Linked DNA regions of Homo sapiens: regions 1 and 2 are each linked to region 3. The links are contacts of gene promoters, found by promoter capture Hi-C in blood cells and fetal thymus (Javierre and others, 2016). All regions are on one chromosome and are shown on one strand. Each heading gives the region's core, a stretch centred on a gene start or on the middle of the fragment in contact. The rest is flanking DNA. Distances are from core to core; before and after follow the strand shown.

What was found. The method cuts DNA at HindIII sites, captures the fragments that hold promoters and counts their contacts. A CHiCAGO score of 5 or more calls a contact.
Region 1: a contact is called between a fragment that was not itself captured here and the fragment with the promoter of TRIM69 in region 3, in 5 of 17 cell types (non-activated CD4 T cells, total CD8 T cells, naive CD4 T cells and 2 more). The highest score is 6.8, in non-activated CD4 T cells.
Region 2: a contact is called between a fragment that was not itself captured here and the fragment with the promoter of TRIM69 in region 3, in 5 of 17 cell types (activated CD4 T cells, non-activated CD4 T cells, total CD4 T cells and 2 more). The highest score is 6.6, in activated CD4 T cells.

What each region holds. Positions count from the first base shown.
Region 1 is chr15:44,645,999-44,648,925 of GRCh38, reverse strand. It overlaps SPG11 (SPG11 vesicle trafficking associated, spatacsin), which reads left to right. Exons shown (of 40, transcript NM_025137.4): 7 at 1-60. Among named protein-coding and RNA genes, the nearest start is that of SPG11, 16 kb to the left of the region's middle. The HindIII fragment of the contact is 2,562 bases long and covers 352-2,913 here.
Region 2 is chr15:44,609,633-44,612,337 of GRCh38, reverse strand. SPG11 (SPG11 vesicle trafficking associated, spatacsin) reads left to right here. Exons shown (of 40, transcript NM_025137.4): 18 at 1,353-1,498. Among named protein-coding and RNA genes, the nearest start is that of SPG11, 53 kb to the left of the region's middle. The HindIII fragment of the contact is 6,165 bases long and covers 1-2,705 here.
Region 3 is chr15:44,735,234-44,737,933 of GRCh38, reverse strand. It overlaps TRIM69 (tripartite motif containing 69), which reads right to left and starts at 1,406. Exons shown (of 7, transcript NM_182985.5): 1 at 1,224-1,406. The coding sequence starts at 1,229. The HindIII fragment of the contact is 591 bases long and covers 1,236-1,826 here.

The DNA.
Region 1 (2,927 bases), core at 383-2,882, 89 kb after region 3:
GACACTCTTTGTCATCTCAATGGCTGGGGAAGGTGCTCAATTCCCATACATGCACTAGAGGTAACAGAATTAAATGCCCAAGAACATTACTTAATTATTTTGTGTTATATACTTTTATTCGATTTAGGATTTGAGAGAATTCATTTAATTTAGCAGCAAAAAGAACTATAGCCTTTGTATATCTATTTAAACAGTTCTGGCTGTTTCATTACCCTAACTCTGCTTAGCAGTTTACCCTTTTTGGCTTTAAAAGATATAAGATTATAGTAAATAATAAGAAAAAGGTACAGGAAATGGAGGCAACATTAAGCTAATGAGACTAAATGAAGTGGAAATAAGCTATGGAAAGCTTGAACAGTAATGATCTTTTATTCCTACCTTATGCTTCCTACTTTTTTTTTTTTTTTTTTTTTGACACAGGGTGTCACTTTATTGCCCAGGCTGGAGTGCAGTGGTGCAATCTCAGCTCACTGCAACCTCCGCCTCCCAGGTTCAAGCAATTCTCCCACCTCAGCCTCCCCAGTAGGTGGGACTACAGGCACGCGCCACCATGTCCAGCTAATTTTTGTATTTTTTGGTAGAGGCAGGGTTTTGCCATGTTGGCCATGGCTGGTCTCTAACTCCTAATTTCAAGTGATTCACCCGCTGTGTCCTAGAGTGCTGGGATTACAGGAGTGAGCCACTGCACCCAGCCTGCTTCCTACTATTCTGATCCAACTTCAGAAGAGGCATAACCTGAATTTATGTAAGATTTTATAATTCACAAACACTCTTTTACATGGAATATCTAATTTGGTCCCAAAACAACCATATGAGACAGATTGGGTTGTTTATATTCTTTTTATTTTACAGATGAAGAAACTTAGGCTTTCAGTGATTGAGTGGGTGACCCAGAGCCATGTTAATAAAGACAGGAGCTAGAATCAAGGGCAGGGTACCTTCTGCTATACTCACAGTCCCTGAAGTTAATAATGTTATGTGCCAGTTTCTTTAAATGACAGCTTTATTGAGATATAAATCACATACCCATAAAATTCACCCTTTTAAAATGTACAATTCAATGGCCTGTGGTATATTCAGAGTTGTGCAGCCATCACCACTAATTCTAGAACATTTTCATCACCTCAAAAAGAAAGTCCATAACCATTAGTGGCCACTCCCTATTTCCTGTTGTCTCCAAGTCTTAAACACCAATCTACTTTCTGACTGGATTTTTCTATTCTGGACATTTCATGTAAATTGAATTATAAAATATGTGACCTTTGTGACAGGCATCTTTGACCTAGCATGTTTTCAAAGTTCATCCATGTTGTAGCATGTCACTACAACTTCATTCCTTTTTATGGCTGAATATTCCATTGTATCAATATATACTGCATTTTGTTTATCCATTCATCAGCTGATGGACATTTGGGTTGTCTCCACTTTCTAGCCATTATGAATAATCCTGCTGTGGACATTTGTGTACAAGTTTTTGTGTTGACATATGTTTTCATTTCTCTGGGGTATATACCTAGCTGTGGAATTACTGGGTCATTTATTATTTTTGAGGAATCCCCAAACTTCCACAGTGACTGCACCATTTTACATTCCCATCAGCAATGTATGAGGGTTCTGCTAGCTGCACATCTTAGCTTAACACTTGTTATTGTTTGTTTTTTATTGCAGCCATCCTAGTCAGTGTGAAGTCAAAATGAAATGGCATCTCATTGTGGTTTTCATTTGTATTTTCCTAATGACTAAACATGTTGAACATGTTTTCATATGCTTATTGGCTATTTGTGTGTCGTCTTTGGAGAAATGTCTGTCAAATTAGGTTGTCTTTTTATTGAGTTCTAAGAGTTGTGTATATATTCTGGATGCTAGACTCTATGACATACATGATTTACAAATACTTTCTCCCGTTCTTTGGGTTGTTATTTCACCTTTTTAAAATTTTTTTAACTTTTATTTTAGGTTCAGGGGTACATTTGCAGGTTTGTCACATAGGTAAATTGCATATCATGGGGGTTTGGTGTACAGATTATTTCATCACTCAGGTAATAAGCATAGTACCTGATAGGCAGTTTTCAATCCTCACCTTCCTCCTACCCTCCACCCTCAAGTAAGCCCCAGTGTCTGTTGTTCTCTTCTTTTTGTTCATGTGTACTGTGTTTAGCTCCCACTTATAAGTGAGAACACCCAGTATCTGATTTTCTGTTCCTGCATTAGTTCACTTAGGATAATGGCCTCTAGCTCCATCCGTGTTGCTGCAAAGGACATGACCTCGCTCTTTTTTATGGCTGCATAGTATTCCATCATGTATATGAATCACAAATTCTTTATCCAGTTGATATGGTTTGGCTCTGTGTCCCCACCCAAATCTCATCTTGAATTGTAATCCCCATGTGTCAAGGGAGGGAGGTGATTGCATCATGGGAGCAGTTTCCCCAGTGCTGTTCTCCTGATAGTGAGTTCTCAAGAGATCTGATGGTTTAAAAGTGGCAGTTTTCCCCTGTACTCTCTCTGCCACCATGTAAGGCATGCCTTGCTTCCCCTTCACTTTCTGCCATGATTGTAAGTTTCCTGAGGCCTCCCAGCCATGCAGAACTGTGAGTCAATTAAACCTCCCTTCTCAGGTAGTATCTTTGTAGCAGTGTGAGAACAGACTACTAATACACTAGTTTGCCAACCTAAATGCCAATCATGGGCATTTAGGTTGATTCCATATCTTTGCCATTGTCAATAGTGCCGTGAGGAATATATGTGTGCATGTATGTTTATGGTAGAATGATTTATATTCCTTTGGTTATATACCCAATAATGGGATTGCTGGGTTGAATGATAGTTCTGCTTTAAGTTCTTTGAGAAATCGCCAAATTGCTTTCCACATTGGCTGAGCTAATTTACATTCCCACCAGCACTGTATAAGCTTTCCCTTTTCTCTG
Region 2 (2,705 bases), core at 110-2,609, 130 kb after region 3:
TAATATTTTAATGTATTTTGTTCCAGTTATCTTCACTGTACTTTTTAAAAACTTAGTCTCTATTGTATTTCATTCACCCAACAAATATTTATTGAGCTCCTACCTTGTGACAGACTATTGTTAAGTGCTAGTAGAACAACAAGAAACATCTATGTTTTTATATACTGCTTTTTTGTGTGTAATATTATAACAGAATTTTCCCACATTCTTAAAGACAATGACCATTTTAGGCCAGGCGCAGTGGCTCATGCCTGTAATCCCAGCACTTTGAGAGGCCAAGGCGGGCAGATCACGAGGTCAGGAGATCGAGGCCATCCTGGCTAACACGGGGAAACCCCGTCTCTACTAAAAATACAAAAAAAAAATTAGCCCGGCTTGGTGGCGGGTGCCTGTAGTCCCGGCTACTTGGGAGGCTGAGGCAGGAGAATGGCATAAACTGGGGAGGTGGAGCTTGCAGTGAGCCAAGATAGCTCCACTCCAGCCTGGGTGAGAGAGTGAGACTCCATCTCAAAAAAAAAAAAAAAAAAAGACAGTGACCATTTTAAATGTTTACATAATATTTCATTGTATGGATATACCATTATTTAATTTTCTGTTCTCTCATTTTCCGACAATGAGGGCATTTTCCATTTTTTTCTATTATAAATAATAGTCTTGAATATATTTCAATATAAAACTGTCCTTATTTCAGATTATTTTCTTAGCACAGATAGGTTTTGGGATATAAAACTATTGGGTCAAAGGTTACACATGTTTAAGGTTCTTGCTGTAGGACCGGATTGCTTTCCAAGGGAGTTGTACAATTTTATTTTAAGTCCTAGTCTCTACTCACTGTGACCAGCTCTAATGCTTGATGATGAGTTTTTTTAAATTACTGCTAATTGGATAGGTAGTATATGGCATCTAATTAATTTGCATTTCTTTGTTGCTAGTGAATTATATAGTTTTATGTGTCAGGCATTTATATTTCCTCCTTCATAAATTGGTTATTTCTTTTGCCCATTTATCTGTTAGAGTCAGTATTTTTGGCATTGATTTGGATGAGCTCTTTGTTGAGAACAAACTCAGCAACTCTTTAGGTTGTCATTTGTTACAATTTTTCTCTCAGTTCATTGTTACCTTTTAATTTTCTTTGAACAGAAGTTTTTATTTTTATGTAGACAAATCTTTCATTTTTTCCCTCTGTGATGTTTTCCCATTGCTTTTAAATTTAGGAAGTCCTTTTTTTTTTTTTTTTTTTTTTTTTACTGGGGATAGAGTTAAAAATTTATGTTATTGTTCTCACATTTATGTAATCCTTAATTTAGTATTTATCCCTCTTAAGGAGAAAAACACTGTCTTTTATTTTCCAGATCCCAAACTGATCTTCCAGGCTAGCCTTGCAAATGCTCAGATTTTGATTCCCACCAATCAGGCCAGTGTAAGCAGTATGCTATTGGAAGGACATACCCTCCTGGCCCTTGCTACTACAATGTATTCTCCTGGGGGTGTCAGTCAGGTATGGATAGCACTTTATGACAAAATAGGACTGATTTTTAAATTTAGCAGAATTATCTATGGATTGTCTAGATCTCAGCTGATATTAAAATATAACTATATTCAAGTATTTCATTAGATTAAAGAGCAGAGGATAAGGCTGAATTTAAAAATTTTATATCTCGGCCCGGTGCAGTGGCTCACTCCTGTAATCCCAGCACTTTGGGAGGCCGAGGCAGGCGGATCACTTGAGGTCAGGAGTTCGAGACCAGCCTGGCCAACGTGGTGAAACACCATCTGTACTAAAAAAACTTCACTGGGCGTCTTGGCGCACGCCTGTAATCCCAGCTACTGGGGAGGCTGAGGCATGAGAATCACTTGAACCTGAGAGGCGGAGGTTGCAGTGAGCTGAGATTGTACCACTGCACTCCAGCCTGGGCAACAGAGCGGGACTCCGTCTCAAAAAAAAGAAAAGAAATTTATGTCATCTTCAGTTTAAAGTGAATGAAGCCAAGTGCGGTGGCTCACATTTGTAATTCCAGCCCTTTTGAGAGGCCAGGGTGGGTGGATCACTTGAGTACAGGAGTTTGAGACCAGCCTGGGCAACATGATGAAACCTCCATCTCCACAAAAAAAAAATTTAAAAATTAGCTGGGCATGACCGAGTGCGGTGGCTCACACCTGTAATCCCAGCACTTTGGGAGGCCAAGGCGAGTGGATCACTTGAAGTCAGGAGTTCAAAACCAGCCTGGCCAACATGCTGAAACCCCGTCTCTACTAAAAATACAAAAACTAGCCGGGCATGGTAGCGTACGCCTGTAATCCCAGCTACTCAGGAGGCAGAGGCAGAAGAATTGTTTGAACCCAGGGGGCAGAGGTTGCAGTGAGCTGAGATCGCGCCAGTGTACTCCAGCCTCTGTGACAGAGCAAGACTCCGTCTCAAAAAAAAAAAAAAAAAAAAAAAAATTAGCTGGGCATGGTGGCGTGCTCCTGTAGTCCCAGCTACTTGGGTGGCTGAGACACGATTACTTGAGCCTGGGAAGTCGAGGCTGCAGTGAGCCAAGATCATACCACTGCACTCCAGCCTGGGTGATAAAGTGAGACCTTGTCTCAAAAAAAAAAAAAAGCTGGGCGGGGGCAGGGAGGGGAATGAATATGTTATATAGAGATTATTTTTTCCCTTTAGTTTGTTTTCCAATACTCCAGATTTGTTTTCAGAATACAATTAG
Region 3 (2,700 bases), core at 157-2,656:
AGAGATTTTTTTTTCCTGAGAAGTTTTGTGTTGTAAATTTTTGAAATCATAGTTAAGATATCTAAGGAGAGTTCATTTGTTGCTTTTCAACCTTTATTCCTTCAAAGTAATTTTTAAACTTTGATGGGCAGTTTTTATGAAGAATTAACTTTGAGAGCAGAAAAATACAGTTCATCCACAGAGACAAACTATATAGCACAGCCAGCTTAAACCTAAGAGCAAGACACACTCCTGCTTCACGAGTCAAGCCATTTGCACATAAGAAGGCAAGATTCTGAACTTTCTGACTTCTTGGAGCTTCCCAGAGTTGAAAGAAATTTTAAGCCATTTAATTCACTCCTTTCCAACCTCTGCCTGAACATCTGAAGTAATGGGAAACTCACTATCACACAAACAATTTTTTTACTATTATGGAAAAGTGTCTATTTTCACTGACTTGGCCTTAAAGTAATAAGAATATAGTAGGTTTAGGCAATAGTGTTTATTTTTGCCCTAGAAATTATAAACAAAATGCTTATAGCCCTGTTTGCTTCAATAGCTAAGCACAGAGATGAGTAGCAGCAAACCTAAAGGTCCTATGATAGAGGAAATTAGAAACTGATCTTAATGATTAATATAATGAAATTAAACTTTATAAGAAGTGGAAACTAGTGGAAATGGATGATAACTCAGGATTCAAGGGCCCCTGAAAAACCCTTAGTGAGTTTTTCAAGCTTTCATGTAGTAAATAACCATTTTCTTTTGTTTGACAATCAGGAAAACACTAAGTTCAGAAGAACATAACTTCCTTTATTTTAGCTCTGAAGAGGTCTTAAAGGAAGAATTCAATTAAAAATGTTTACTATCTAAGTATCAACTCTGCCTTAAATATAAAATAATCAAATGTGAAGGTATTGTAAGCAAACCAAGTTATACATAATAATTTTTAAATCTAAAATAAAATGATTACATTGATAATGAAAGTAAATTGTATATAGTATATAGTTTATTTTTTCTCAAAATGTTTTGGTGGATTTCATTACTTTCCTACCAGCTTCTCTAGTATAAATTATCAGTTATTCCAAGGCTTGGAGAGAGTATAGTAGCTACCAGCTGTCACAAGTTAAATACTTCCCTTCATGAATTTCCTTTTGTGCTCCTAAATCCATATCCTCTTCTATGATCCTGTTTTCCACACTATTCCTAGAAGCCCTGCTAAGTTAAAAAAAAAAAGGGTCACTCACCTCCATGAAGCTTCAGCCCACCAAGGGGCAGAGGCAGGCACTTGAATCAGAGCTCAGCAGGCCCAGGATGGCTGCAGACTGGGAGTCAGGGACCTTTTAGTTTTCAAGGAATGGGCTCAGAGCATGATGGAAGAAAGAAAAGTTCAGGAGCTGGAGAGAAGCAGCAAGGCCAGAGTGAGGTCTGGCAGATTCCGTGACAGTTTGTCAGTTAACTTTGATCATCATTTGCTTAAGAGAAAGAGAAACCCTCATTAGAATACCCTACCTGCCCAACTTTTCTTTTGTAGGAGACAAGGGCAGCTCATTTAGATTCGAGTTAGTGGTCTAATCTTAAGGTTCATAGCTCCCCATTTCTGGACTAAGGATGCTCTATGAAAGAGGAAATACACGTCAGCAGCAGCCTATATTAAGCCTAACTCATGAAAAATAACCACCTCACCCCTGTTCATGATCCCATCACACCATCAAGACACCAGCTGAGTGGCTTTAATAGAGAGCTAGTTCACCTCTCATATTCCAATGAAGCAGCCCTGATTTTATCTCTGAGACAGTAACACAGGCCTGGGAAACACCAGGCCCTAAGAAAGCAGGATGAAAAAAGCTTCATTTCATACAGCTTTCTTCAGCAGTTTTAGCTCGCAGAGAGATGTACCAACACTGTGCTCCTGAGTGACTTATAAAGAGCCACCACAGAGCCAAACAGTTTTTCTTACAGTAGTTCCTCTAACTCAATATGATTTCTTGCACGTCTAGCTCCTGCCTAGCTGTCCAGACTTAATGACCACAGCTCTTTCCCCAGTGTTTGGGATCGCCCAAATATGTCACGCTTCTGCAGCTTTGTATATGTTGTCCCTTCGGATGGGAGTTTCCCTTCCCCCACACCCCCGTCATTATCTCTTTACTAAACTCTTCCCTAACCACCCCCTCATCCCCAAACCAAGCTTTACCCACTTCCCTGTCTCTTGTAGAAGATATTTTGCTGGCTCTATACCAGAGGTTACCAACCTCAGCCCTATTGATATTTTGGGCCTGCTAAGTCTTACGTTAGAGGGGCTGTCCTGTGAATTTTAGGATATTTAGCAGTGTCCCTGGCGTTTACACACTAGATGCCTGTAGCCACCCCCCCCCCACCAAACCCAGTCATAACAAAAATGTCTCCAGTCATTGCCAAATGTCTCCTGGGGGCAGGGGTTGGAATCACTCCCCAGTTGAGAAACACAGCTTTACTCCCTTCCTTCCTTCCTTCCTTCCTTCCTTCCTTCCTTCCTTCTTTCCTTCCTTCCTTCCTTCCTTCCTTCTTTCCTCTTTCTTTTTTTCTTTCTCTTTCTTTCTTTCTCTCTCTTTCTGTTTTCTTTCTCCCTTTCTTTCTCTCTCTGTTTCTTTCTCTTTCTTCCTTTCTTTTTCCTCTTTCTTTCTCTCTTGCTCTCTTTCTTTCTTTCTCCCTTTCTTTCTCTTTCTCTTTCTTTCCTTCTTTTCT